Regions from separate parts of the Homo sapiens genome. Here region 2 is linked to region 1. Evidence: promoter capture Hi-C in human tissues and cell types (Jung and others, 2019). All regions are on one chromosome and are shown on one strand. The core of a region is centred on a gene start or on the middle of the fragment in contact, and the rest is flanking DNA. Distances in the headings are between cores, read along the strand shown. Region 1 holds the start of IL1A (interleukin 1 alpha). Region 2 has its middle 18 kb from the start of AMANZI.

Region 1 (7,486 bases), core at 2,593-5,092:
GGTAGGATTCTTGTGAGGTTTAGACATAATCCAGTCATTAATAAATTAGTATTGCTGGTAGTATTCATATAGGTAGTAGTAGTAGTAATAATAATAATAATCATAGGCCGGGCGCGGTGGCTCACGCCTGTAATCCCGGCACTTTGGGAGGCCAAGGTGGGTGGATCACGAGGAGATGGAGACCACGGTGAAACTCCGTCTCTACTAAAAATACAAAAAATTAGCCGGGAACAGTGGCGGGTGCCTGTATTCCCAGCTACTCAGGAGGCTGAGGCAGGAGAATGGCATGAACCCAGGAGGCAGAGCTTGCAGTGAGCCGAGATTGCGCCACTGCACTCCAGCCTGGGTGACAGAGCCAGACTCCATCTCAAAAAAATAAAATAAAATAATAATAATAATGATAGTAATAGCTAACATTTATTGGGTGCTTACTTTGTACCAGACATTATTCTAGTCCAGAAGTTAGGGGATGTTGACTCATTTAATCTTTATAACAGTCAGGAGGGCCCAGCTAGCTCAGTCTGTAAAGCCTGAGACTCTTAATCTTTACAGCAGTCCAATGAGTGGGGGATTCTGATTATCTCCATTTTACAGTAGAGGAAACTGAATCACGAAAAGATTATGTAACATGACCAAGGAGGCATAGTTAGTATGAGAGGAACATAGCTCGTAAGTGGTCTTATTACTGCTTTCTCCTGAAAGGCTAAAAGTCACACGACCTTTACAATATGGCTAAGAAATAATGGCTGTGAGCAAGTATTCTCGATTCAGGCCACTGCTCATTTCTCCCTCCTGGAGAAGGATAAAAATTAATTTTCCTCTGTATAGTTACCAGACTAATGCTTGGTTGTCTTCTTGTTATTCTGACTCCACGTTTAATTTTCCCCTAAATTCTACTGTCCCTACTTGCTTAAAACTGTAAAAGAAAGATATTATTGTGCTTGACCCCTTACCTTCCTCTGAGTCATTGGCGATGGCCTCCAGGTCATCATCAGTGATGGATTGGCTTAAACTCAACCGTCTCTTCTTCAGAACCTTCCCGTTGGTTGCTACTACCACCATGCTCTCCTTGAAGGTAAGCTTGGATGTTTTAGAGGTTTCAGAGATACTCAGAGACACAGATTGATCCATGCAGCCTTCATGGAGTGGGCCATAGCTTACATGATAGAAGGATTTCTGTGAGGAAGGAAAACAGAAGCTGAGAGGCTGTTCATGGTCAGGGAATGAAAGTTCTTTCAGTAGGTGCTGTATTCAACAGAGGTAGTGAGGAGGATCTCCATTCTGGTCTTAGGTAACTGGTGTTTCATTAGGCTTCCCTCCCTCTCTCCCTTTTGTCTCACCTTCCTTCCTCCTTCCAGGATAAAAAGATGATTTTTTTAGGAAGACTTTTTCATTTATTTGCATGCTCAAAAATGAGATGTTGTAACTAAATAGGTTAACAATGATTGTAGTGAGTGGTAGCTTTCCAATTAGTTCCCTCTCAGGAGGTTAAAAATCTGCTTAACAATGCTCAAAATATTTTAGAAATACTCCTTTGGGGACAGCTTTTAAAGCCAGTACTGAAGACATACTAGGCAGTACTTATAGTGTCTATTTGTGGTCTCCAAACACAATAACACAGATTGATGAGTGGCTGTAGACTTCTCACTTTCAACTGGCTTGCTTCCTCTCTCTCAGCTTCATGTTTGGAGACTTTCTCTAACCTCTGATGCTGGTGTCAGAGAAGACAACCACAACACATCACGTTAGGAGACAGACACCTGGTGAAGCGGCCTGCGGGGCCTTTCTCAGGATGGCATAACTAACATCCTGATGAAGCCTGCCCCAGGAGACTCCAGTTCTCAGGGATTTGGGATGGTTCTGCTCTGTTCTGGGAGAAGCCAATGCACATCAACTATTAGTTTAGAGAGGCAGCTGGTCTCACTTATAATGAAAGACAGGTCTCTGGACCTCTAGTGAGGGTAAAACAAAAGTATTGAAGATTCAAGTCATTGCTGTTCTCTTTGGATGAAGAAACCACTGTGTAAGAATAGCAGTCCCATGAGAATTACAGTCATTTGCTTACCTGATTCAGAGACAGATGATCAATGGAGGAACTGTCTTCTTCATTTTCACTGTCAAAATAAGATGATGAGAATGTAATTGTTGTTATTTCAGTGTGGTCTCTGGCCAATGTACTTTAATGACCATGATAGTTGTGGGTCACACACATACACATGGCCATTACTGTCATCTTTGAAATTTAAGGACTTCTACACATACACATAGGTAGAGTAATTCATATCTTACTAATCTGGAATTAGTAGTCATCAAGACAGGCTTTGAGCTTTACCTGTGCTTTATCTGTAAAAATTGGACTTGGCTAACAAATTGAAGAGCTTTAATTGAAGTTCAGGGAAGAATGTTAAGCTCCTTTAGAGAAAAGAAAGGTTTTGAAGCACTTCCTTTTTATTTTAACCAAATAGATTATATGTTACACATTACTTTCATGTATTCACTAAAACAGATTTCATAATTTATACTTAGTAAAATATCCAGGCAAAATTTTGACAGCCTAGTTTGTGTTAGTATTTACTACAGATAATGGAAACATCATGTTAGTTTAATATGTTCCGTAATTTTATCTTTGTGTTCATTTACCTTTCTTCTACATCTGAGTGAGATTTGCCTGCATATGTGAGTTCACATGCCCAGCTTGCTGTGGAGCCATTTCCTGTTCCTGAATGAGATCAAGTTTTCCTGAGAATGGACCAGTAAAACCCATTCTTATATCAGGGCATGTGATCTCAACAGAGGCTGTGTCTAAGTTGATGCTGATATTCATGTAGGGCTCAGCAGACCTCAAAAATAATTTTTCTAAAATGGCGGTCTCCCTGCCAATGTAATCTCAGTTTAACATGCTGAATGCTTAGTTTTTCTGGGTCTTCTCTGAACCTGCTCTGACTTCAGGACTAGTACACATCTCTACAACCTCTGCCGGCCTGCCCCCATGCTGGCCACTGTTATGCCTAGCTGGATTCTGGTGAGCCTTGAAACCCTCATTAAATCACAAGAGATAAATCTTATTCCTTACCTGTAACAGTTCTTCAGGTCTTCAAACATGTCTGGAACTTTGGCCATCTTGACTTCTGCAACAGAGAACACCAGCCACCATCAGCTCAGCCAGCCTCTAATCCAGATATCTGTGAGGGGAGCCCCTCCTCTTTGTGCTTCCTGAAAACTTTGTTGAATGACTTAGTCCACATTCAGCATTTTCTCCATCTTCTAGCTCCTTTGAATTAGTTTGCTATGTACCTGTCTCCTTTATTAGATCGTAAACTTCTTTTAGAATGTTTTATTTATGTTGGTATTCCTTATGTGCCCAACCTAATGTATTGCCAGAACAGGCATTCAATCAATGAAAGTTTGAAGAGGTTACAAAAACACCACAAGAATAAGGTATTTGCCTTACACAGAGGTAAGAGAGAGACAGAGTTGGAAATTTTCAATTTTCTCCTAATAATTTTGGATAGTAGAGATTCCCTCCCATGAGAAGCCTCAGTTGTATTCACCCATGCCCTCATAGGAAACTAGTTCTGCTGTCCCTCAGTATAACGAATCAGTCCTTATCAGCAAAATGAGAGAATCATTTTCTGAAATCTGACTGTAATTCTAGGTCACATACCAAACCAGGGAGGGACAAGAAAAGAAAGGAGAGGCTGTAGCTTTAGAGAAGGCAATGTGAGAGAAAACAGCCAAAGAGAAAAACAACAACAGAAAATACTTTAATAGCCAGAGATGTGAGGACAATACCTTTGCTGACTCAAACGCCAATGAAATGACTCCCTCTCTGGCTGGCAGCTTAAGCCTGAGTCAGTCTTCTTCGCCTTTTGTAATTGTCTTAAGTAGGCGTGGCTACGTGGCTACAAGTGCGTCGTCAAAACGGGGAATTTACAGGGAAGAATTCAGTTTTGTATTTTTCTATGTTCATTCAACTCGATACTGGCTAAAATAGTGAAAGATGGCATAGCTGATATTATTGTTGTTTGCAGATATTCCAGAAGTTATTGATTTGGTTCATTTATTCACCCCTTTGCTTTATAAGATGACAAACATGTAGTCTTAGAAAAAGGGAAGCGCGGGAAACTTATCAAGTTTCTAGGAGGAAGGGAGAAATCGTGAAATCCGAAGTCAAGGGGCTAGATTTGGAGAGGAATTTATTAATAATAATAGTTCTAATAGTAGCTGTAGTTGTGTTCTGGCTGAATTTGTTGATTGTGCTCCAGGGTGAATTGGCAGAATACTTGGCAGCTCCTGGCAACTTTTGAGGGAAAATGAGCCATCTTTTCTGAAGAGGGAAGTTTGCTTGATTAAGGCATAAATCACCTCAGAGTTTGGGGTGACAAGCTCCTGGTTAGGGCAGGGTAGAGAAGAGAACAGTGGTATTTGAGCACAAAGAAGTCTTGATCCTCTTACTCTTCTGAATATTGTCAACACATTTCCTATAGAGGGGATGGAGCTTCAGGAGAGAACTCTCCACCCTGGCCCTGTTACAGTAAAGTAGCCCTCTACCAAGGACCAGAGAGAAGCCTGGTCTTCTGTAGGATATGCCCAAGGTGTGTCTTCTGTAGAAGAAGGTGTGTGCAAGCCCCGGGAGGTATGCGTAAGGCCTCAGCCAGAAGCCAGTGGCTAAGTTTGGGAATGGAGATTGGGAGAAAGGAAGGCATGGATTTTTACATATGAGCCTTCAATGGTGTTGCCTGGTTACTATTATTAAAGAATTTCTCAGCTTTTATAATTCCTGTGGCCAGCCTAGTTCAGGTGGTAGAACACCAGACTCTTAGCAAATGAATGTTTTGGGTTCCCAGTTGGAGTTTAAGCCATGTATATTTTAAATAGAGGAAATGAACTAGGTGTGATGGCATGCCCCTGTAGTCCCAGCTATTCAGGAGGCTGAGGCAGGACAATCACTTGAGGCCCAGAGTTTTAGTCCAGTGTGGGCAACATAGTGAAGCCCCCATCTCTAAAAAATAATAAACGCAAAAAAGCATGGATCTGGGAGGAAAGCAGCTTGTGTGAGTTGGATAAAGTATTCCCTCTGTTCCTGTTTAATTGTAAATAATGGGGTTGGTTAGGTGTCATAAGGTCTATTGCAGGTGCAAAATCTCTTATTCTGATTTAATGCCAGTCTAATTCTCCTGGTCATAGACCTGGTGCTATAATAGTTATAACAGGAGCCACAGAAATAACCACACTTGGATGTAAGCAATGTAAGTGTAGCACCAGACTAGGGTAGAAGCTTGGGTGTCTAAGGATGAATCCTGAAGCAACAGTGATGCCAGCCAACTGGCTACATTTCTGCTTACCTTGGTTCCTCTTTAGGCAACACAGAAATGTTAATCCTGATTAACCCTCTCCTCCTGAGAATCTTGTGAGGGCTATTGCTAAGGAACAATTGCAAAGCACATTGTGAATGTGAGCTGCTATGGAGATGCAACTAAACAAAAATAATGACAATGCTAATGATGGCTTCAGTCACTCAAGAACCTGTATAGTCATCATTATAATGCCTCAGTTCACCAAAGAAAATATAGTTCTTATGAAAATACTGGCTTGAAAGCTTCAACAGGGATAACATTTTCAGGTGAAGGCCACCATTGAAAGCCTGAAGATATTTAGCTTCTGGGAGCAATGCATACCATCTCTTTGGTAATCCAGGAAAAAAACCCTGGTTCCACCAACATAGGCAATACCTATCCTGGTCCCATCCTCACTCCTCTGTTGTAAATAATTCCCCAAAGGTGGTTGTTGAATTTTTCAAAGAGAACTTGGTTGAGAAACAGCTAACTTGGGTTAGAATATCACCCAACCTTTTCCTTCACATGATCTTCTTGTAAATTGATTTTTAAAGGAAAACTAGGGTGGGTGAGGTTCAGAGAGAGGTGGGTCCTTGCATTGTTTTGGGGAGCCCGCTTTTCTGGGACTGTGAACAACAGTCACCTCTTCTAGGGAAGGGACAGTGGAACGTACTGGGCAGGGCTCTACTGGGTAGATAGTGGAACATACTGGGCAGGCCTGTGGTGTGTGCGTTGGGAGCCATCCTGTGACAGGGACTTTGGGTGGCTTCAGGCACCCACCTCTCGACTCTGAGGAGGCCTCAGGAAACCCTTAATGAGTCACTGTCATCTAAATCATTTAGGAAAAAAAAATTATTGTGCACTTATCCTATGCCATGGGTTTTGCTAGGAATCAGCAGTTTTTCCCCATGATCCACAAAATCAGATATGCAAGGTGAGATGATCTATGTTGGTGGGTGACTGGATATGTTTTATAAGATTGGAGCTTGTGGGTCCAAAGAATCACTGTGATGCGTTTCATGTGACAATTGTTTTATAGTTTACCTGCACTATCTCACTGCCTCCTCACTGCACCTACAAGAATTAGCTGATACTATCCTCTTTCACAGCTGAGGACCCTTGAAGAGGTTAAGTGACCAACCCAAGATCACAAGACTGATGAAACCAGTGCTTGAACTCAAGCTTCTGATTCCGAGTCCAATCTTCTCTTTCCACTGCATAAAGATACTCGAGTCTCTTATCACCACCAACACCAAGTGATGGCTTATAAAGATCATCCTTAGGGTCTTTCCCCCTCAAACGTGCTATCATTCAGTAACTCTAGGATCCTTGTTAAAAAAAAAAAAAAAACGGGGGTTGCGGAGAAGGGATTGAAATATCTCCTCTCCCTGTCTTCACCTCCTCTGATGAAATCTGATTTTATTCTGTGATATGTAAGACCTGAATGAAGGTGACTGAAGTAATTGGGTACATGGTTAGTGGTGGAATCCGGATGTGAACCTGAGTCATGGTCTTGCCATTGTTCCTTGAAGACAGGAAATATTTGTAAATATATTTGGAAGCAACTTTAAAATTGTTGCATGTGGTTGGGTCTAACAGAATCACTTGAATGAAGAGAAAAACATAACTTTTTCCTGTGAATTTTCAGGGAAATGCAATTATTTCCTTTCACTTGGTATAAAAGCTCTTCAGAGGAATAAAGCATGCATGAGCCAACACATGCAGAGACAATTGAGCCTTTAGTCGCAACTCATGCTCTAGTTATAATGTGTTTTTAAATTCCATGATAGCTACAGAGAAGGAGGAAAGGACTTAACATAACAGCCTACCATGTTCAAGGGATTATAATACATTATCTCATTTAATCCTCTCATGAAACCTGTGAGGTAGATGTTCTTATCACATCTTACAGAAGAGGAAGTCATGGTCTAGAGAAATTAAGCAATCTGCCCAAGATTGCAAGGTTACCAAGTTTCCTAAATGGGATCCAGACACCAGGGCATACACTTCTTCAACCATGAGGATGTCTCTTTTGCTTAATGTAGCTGCTTCCTTTCCTGTGTTCTTTTAAATTAAGTTTTAATTATTCTGCTTTATCTTAGTTTATTGAAGGTTCCAGAATATGTTAGAGAAGGATGCATGTCGGAGAC
Region 2 (6,571 bases), core at 2,103-4,602, 74 kb after region 1:
TACAGTCTGAGCCAAATCAAAGCATGTATGTTTTTTATATGTGTACAACAAAAGGTTTGGAAAGATATGCACCAAATTGTTAAATGTGGTTTCACTTGAGGGGGTGGGAGGATGGGCCCCAGAGGGGTTTTTATAGGGGCCTTTCACTTGGTATTTTTTTCATTTTGTTCTGTTTGAAATTTTGTTTTTTCTTTTTAAATGGAGTTTCACTCTTGTCGCCTAGGCTGCAATGTAGTGGCGTGAACTCAGCTCACTGCAACCTCCGCCTCCCAGGTTCAAGTGATTCTCCTGCCTCAGCCTCCCATGCCTCCTGTGTAGCTGGGATTACAGGCACCCATCACCATGCCTGGCTAATTTTTGTATTTTCAGTAGAGATGGGGTTTCACCATGTTGGCCAGGCTGGTCTGTAATTCCTGACCTCAAGTGATCCACCCACCTTGGCCTCCCAAAGTGCTGGGATTTCAGGTGTGAGCCACCACGCCCAGCCCTGTTTAAATTTTTTATAAGTATGTACTACTTTTGTAATCAGAATTATTAGAAAGCATTTTACTGATTTAAAAGCTTAGACATGTTCAAATGCCTGCAAAACTACTTAACACTCAGCTTTAGTTTTTCTAATCCAAAAAGGCCGGGCAGTTAATCTTTTTGGTGCCAATGTGAAATTTAAACGGTTTTATGTTTTTCCTGTGTTGTGAATGAAAAATATTTCTGAGTGGTGGTTTTTTGACAGGTAGACCATGTCTTGTCTTGTTTCAAAATAAGTATTTCTGATTTTGTAAAATGAAATATACAATATGTCACAGATCTTCCAATTAAGTAGTAAGGGTTTATCCTTAATCCTTGCTAATTTAAGCTTGCATAAGTCACTTTACTAAAAGATCTTTGTTAAGCTAGTATTTTAAACATCTGTCAGCTTATGTAGGTAAAAGTAGAAGCATGTTTGTACACTGTTGTAGTTATAGTGACAGCTTTCCATGTTGAGGTTCTCATATCACCTTGTATCTTGAAGTTTCATGTGAGTTTTTACCATTAGGATGATTAAGATGTATATAGGACAAAATATTAAGTCTTTCCTTTACCTAAGTTTGCTTTCTTGACTAGTAATAGTAGTAGATATTTCTGTAATAAATGTTCTCTCAAGATCCTTAAAATCTCTTGGAAATTATAAAAATATTGGAAAGAGAAGAACAGTTTTTAAAATATATATATATATATATATTTTTTTTGAGATGGAGTCTTGCTCTGTCGTCCAGGCTGGAGTGCAGTGGCGCAAACTTGGTTCACCACAACCTCTGCCTCCCGGGTTCAAGCGATTCTTCTGCCTCAGCCTCCTGAGTAGCTGGGACTACAGGCGCCCGCCACCACGCCCAGCTAATTTTTGTATTTTTAGTAGACACGAGGTTTTACTATGTTGGCTAGGCTGGTCTCAAACTCCTGACCTTGTGATCTGCCCGCCTTGGCCTCCCAAAGTGCTGGGATTACAGGTGTGAGCCACTGCACCTGGCCAGTTTTTTAAATATATTTTTAAAAACACTTGAATAAGAGTCAGTGTAAACTAGAAGTTTAAAAATGCTTCACAGAACACCCAGGGTTTACATTACAAGATTCTCACAACAAACCTATTGTAAAGGTGAGTAAGGCATGTTATTACAGAGAAAAGTTTGGGAGCAAAACTGTAAAAAATTATATTTTTGTTGTATTTTCTAAGAGAAAGAGTATTGTTATGTTCTCCTAACCTCTGTTGATTACTACTTTAAGTGATGTTCATTTAAAACATTGCAAATTTAAATAAGAGTTTTAAAAATTAAGTAATGACTGCCCTGAAACAAAATCATTCCCAGCATACATTTTTGTTTGGATTTATCAATCAAGCAATTTTATACTTATCCCTGTCAAATACTATAAGGTGTCAAAATTTGGCATAGGGGTTACAAAACTATAAACCCAGCCAAAACAGAATAATCTTTGCTTTTTCAATCTTTGATTAAAAAGACATTACTATTGGTTTAATGAAAATAGCTACATCTTGCATTATTTAGTAAAATTACCATAACTTCTAACTTTGTGGCTTTAGGCAGTCTAGTCCACAGGCAGGAAGGAGGTTTGTTTTGGAAAATGACTGTTATCATCTTTTGTTTCAAAGCTAAACTATAAACTAAGTTCCTCCCAAAGTTAATTCAGCCTATGCCCAGGAATGAACAAGGACAGCTTGGACGTTAGAAGCAAAATGGAGTCAGCTAGGTCAGATCTTTTTCACTGTCTCAGTGATGGCAGTTTCATAACTTTAAATGATGGCTATCACAGTTTTCATAAATAATCTAGATAAACAGTTAAAATAAAATAATTAGGTAAATGTAATGGGATAAATATTTGTAGACAAACTCACCATAATTTAGAATCTAAAGTTAAATTAAATAATAAGTATTTCATTATTTGGGTATTTTCCAAGAAAAACATATTGTAGGAAACCATTCTTTCTAAAAAAAAAAGTGTCCTTTTAAAAAGGTGAATAATTTTTGTCTAATTCAAAGCTTATTGAAAAGTTATGTATAAAACAAGGTAAAAGGAACAAGGAAATAAGGGAAATGTAAAGAAAATTATAGAAATAAAGTGGTATTTTTTGGTAAGAAAGCTTAAAGAGAAATAATTTTAGGTAAGAAAGAATCTTACCTAAAATTTTGTGCTAGAATAAAGTGACTGGCTAAGAAAGGGATGTTCAAAGCTATTTATGACAAACCCACAGCCAATATCATACTGAATGGGCAAAAGCTGGAAACATTCCCTTTGAGAACTGGCACAAGACAAGGATGTCCTCTCTCACCACTCCTATTCAACATAGTATCGGAAGTTCTGGCCAGGGCAATCAAGCAAGAGAAAGAAATAAAGGGTATTCAAATAGGAAGAGAGGAAGTCAAATTTTCTCCGTTTGCAGATGCATGATTGCATATTTAGAAAACCCCATCATTTCAGCCCCAAAACTCCTTAAGCTGATAAGCAACTTCAGCAAAGTCTCAGGATACAAAATCAATGTGCAAAAATCACAGGCATTCCTATACACCAATAATAGACTAACAGAGAGCCAAATCATGAGTGAACTCCCATTCACAATTGCTACAAAGAGAATAAAATACCTGGGAATACAACTTACAATGGACATGAAAGACCTTTTCAGGGTGAACTGCAAACCACTGCTCAAGGAAATAAGAGAGGAAACAAACAAATGGAAAAACATTCCATGCTTATGGATAGGAAGAATCAATATCGTGAAAATGGCCATACTGCCCAAGTAATTTATAGATTCAATGCTATCCCCATCAAGCTACCATTGACTTTCTTCACAGAATTAGAAAAAACTAATAGCCAAGACAATCCTAAGCAAAAAGAACAAAGCTGGAGGCATTGTGCTACCTGACTTCAAACTATACTACAAGGCTGCAGTAACCAAAACAGCATGGTACTGGTACCAAAACAGATATATAGACCAAAAGAACAGAACAGAGGCCTCAGATATAACACCACACATCTACAACCATCTGATCTTTGACAAACCTAACAAAAATAAGCAATGGGGAAAATAATTCCCTATTTAATAAATGATGTTGGGAAAACTGGTTAGCCATATGCTGAAAACTGAAACTGGACCCCTTCCTTACAACTTATACAAAAATCAACTCAAGATGGATTAAAGATTTAAACATGGCTGGGCATGGTGGCTCACGCCTGTAATCCCAGCACTTTGGGAGGCCGAGATGGGTGGATCATGAGGTCAGGAGATGGAGACCATCCTGACTAACACAGTGAAACCCTGTCTCTACTAAAAAATACAAAAAATTAGCTGGGCATGGTGGTGGGCGCCTGTAGTCCCAGCTACTTGGGAGGCTGAGGCAGGAGAATGATGTGAAACCAGGAGGTGGAGCTTGCAGGGAGTGGAGATCACGCCACTGCACTCCAGCCTGGGCAACAGAGTAAGACTCCATCTCAAAAAAAAAAAAAAAAAAAAAGAAGGATTTAAACATAAGACCTAAAACCATAAAAACCATAGAAGAAAACCTAGGCAATACCATTCAGGACATAGGCATGAGCAAAGACTTCATGATTAGAACACCAAAAGCAATTGCAACAAAAGCCAATTGACAAATGGGATCTAATTAAACTGAAGAGCTTCTGCACAGCAAAAGAAACTATTGTCAGAGTGAACAGGCAACCTACAGAATAGGAGAAAATTTTTTCAATCTATCCATCTGACAAAGGGCTAATATCCAGAATCTACAAGGAATTTAAACAAATTTGCAAGAAAAAAAAACCCATCAAAAAGTGGGCAAAAGATATGAACAGACACATCTCAGAAGAAGACATTTATGTGGCCAACAAACATGAAAAAAAGCTCATCATCACTGGTCATTAGAGAAATGCAAATTGAAACCACAATGAGATACCATCTCATGCCAGTTAGAATGGCGATTATTAAAAAGTCAGGAAACAACAGATGCTGGAGAGGATGTGGAGAAATAGGAATGCTTTTACACTGTTGGTGGGAGTGTCAGTTAGTTCAACCATTGTGGAAGACAGTGTGGCAATTCCTCAAGGATCTGGAACCAGAAATACCATTTGACCCAGCAATCCCATTACTGGGTATATACCTAAAGGATTAGAAATCATTCTATTGTAAAGACACATGCACATGTATGTTTATTGCAGCACTATTCACAATAGCAAAGACTTGGAACCAACCCTAATGCCCACCAATGATAGACTGGGTAAAAAAATGTGGCACGTATACACCATGGAATACTATGCAGCCATAAAAAAGAATGAGTTCATGTCTTTTGCAGGGACATGGATGAAGCTGGAAGCCATCATTCTCAGCAAACTAACACAGGAACAGAAAACCAAACACTGCATGTTCTCACTCATAAGTGGGAGTTGAACAATGAGAACACATGGACACAGGGAGGGGAATGTCACACACCAGGGCCTGTCAGGAGGTGGGGGGCAAGGGGAGGGATAACATTAGGAAAAATACCTAATATAGATGACGGGTTAATGGGTGCAGCAAACCACCATGGCACATGTACACCTACGTAATAAACCTCCATGTTCTTCACATGTATCCCAGAACGTAAAGTAAAATTTAAAAAAGAAAGAAAGAAAGAAAAGGATGTTCACGACAAACCAGAAAGTCCAAGCATGTCATGAATAGTCTGTGTAAGTCACAATAAGAGGATTTATTTAAAAAAACTTTTATATGATAAAGTTGTCTATAATTAAAGGGAAATTATAATGGTCTTTCTAGAGATTGGGTTGATGTTAAAAAACTACTTATATATTAAAAAATTGGTTAGAACAATGAAATTTTCTTACGGGGTTGATTCACTCTTAATAAATTATAAGAGACTTAAGAATTTTTTTTTAACCCAAAGTTCAGCTTTTATTGCATCTTGCTGTTTTAGGTTTTCTCTCCCCTTTAAAAGGGTGGGAAATAGTAATGCCCTCCTTCAACTCCCTTCAGCTCATATACGTTTTTTACCCTCAGATTCTGTTTGTTGTGTCCTGATGCTAACAATGTTTTCTTAAAGGTCTAAAGGAAATGTTTTCTTCCAACATAATATTCTGTGCATTGCAGAAGGTCTTTTCTTTTGCCTTTTGGTAACTGGCTTAACAGATTTTATGTTTTATTGAAATAATTTCTATGCCATTATTATTAAGTTTTGGTTTGCTTAGAAAACACTGAGATTAATACAATTTTTTAAAAATTATGATTATTACATCCATATATCTTTATGTATGTGCTTTTAAAGTCCTTGTGACATTGAGTTATAGGGCTTGACTCCTGGGTCTTAAAAGGACAAGTCCTGCTAAATCTTAAATACTGACAGCAATTAAAGGCTCATCTTCAGGACTGGTAGAAAATGCCAATCAAAATAAACTGCATTCTTGAAACACAGAGCCAGAAATTAAAGCTATTCAACTCAAGGCCCAGGAACTATAGTGGAAGAGGTGGGTGTGTGAGATTGTAAGGGCCAATTTTGAGAGATAAAATAAGTTCAATTTCTCTATAAATTAATCATAATCATTGATGTCCAAGCCACACTGATGCAAGATCAGCATATGGGTCCTGTGTCAGATTAACAAGGTTTTCTTGAAGCATTAACCTACTCCTTAATAAAGGTTATAGAGGTTATAAAAGGCTTCTGGAAGTTATAGCTATGGTCAAGATAAAAATTTCATAGATTGTTAATACAATTTTGGAAAACAAATTTAATTGGCTTCATGCTGTTTTTATTAGGGCTTATTGTTTGGAAAATTAAGTCTCGTCTCTCAAAGAATGAAGGCTTTCACCTTTTTTTTTTTTTTTTTTAATCCTTGAGTTATCACTTTGGTCAAATGAATGACTTATTTTACAATGACCTTTCATCAAGTGTTTTAAACCTTTCAAATTTGACAAACTTTCCAAAATCAAACTACAAATTATGTCTTTTTATGACCTAATGAATCCTTTAAGATACTAGGTTCCCTAAAGTCCAAAAAAAAAAAAAAGTAACATAATGTGGCTTATTTGGTATAAAAATTT

What was found. The method cuts DNA at HindIII sites, captures the fragments that hold promoters and counts their contacts. A contact is called where the count stands out against the background at its distance.
Region 2: a fragment that was not itself captured here is called in contact with the fragment with the promoter of IL1A in region 1 in 3 of the 25 tissues and cell types used here (H1 embryonic stem cells, liver and spleen).

Annotation. Positions count from the first base shown.
Region 1 is chr2:112,780,651-112,788,136 of GRCh38, forward strand. IL1A (interleukin 1 alpha) reads right to left here and starts at 3,843. Exons shown (of 7, transcript NM_000575.5): 1 at 3,793-3,843; 2 at 3,074-3,128; 3 at 2,066-2,114; 4 at 954-1,176. The coding sequence starts at 3,120. The HindIII fragment of the contact is 8,255 bases long and covers 1-5,438 here.
Region 2 is chr2:112,854,786-112,861,356 of GRCh38, forward strand. No RefSeq gene overlaps it. Among named protein-coding and RNA genes, the nearest start is that of AMANZI, 18 kb to the left of the region's middle. The HindIII fragment of the contact is 6,957 bases long and covers 1-6,571 here.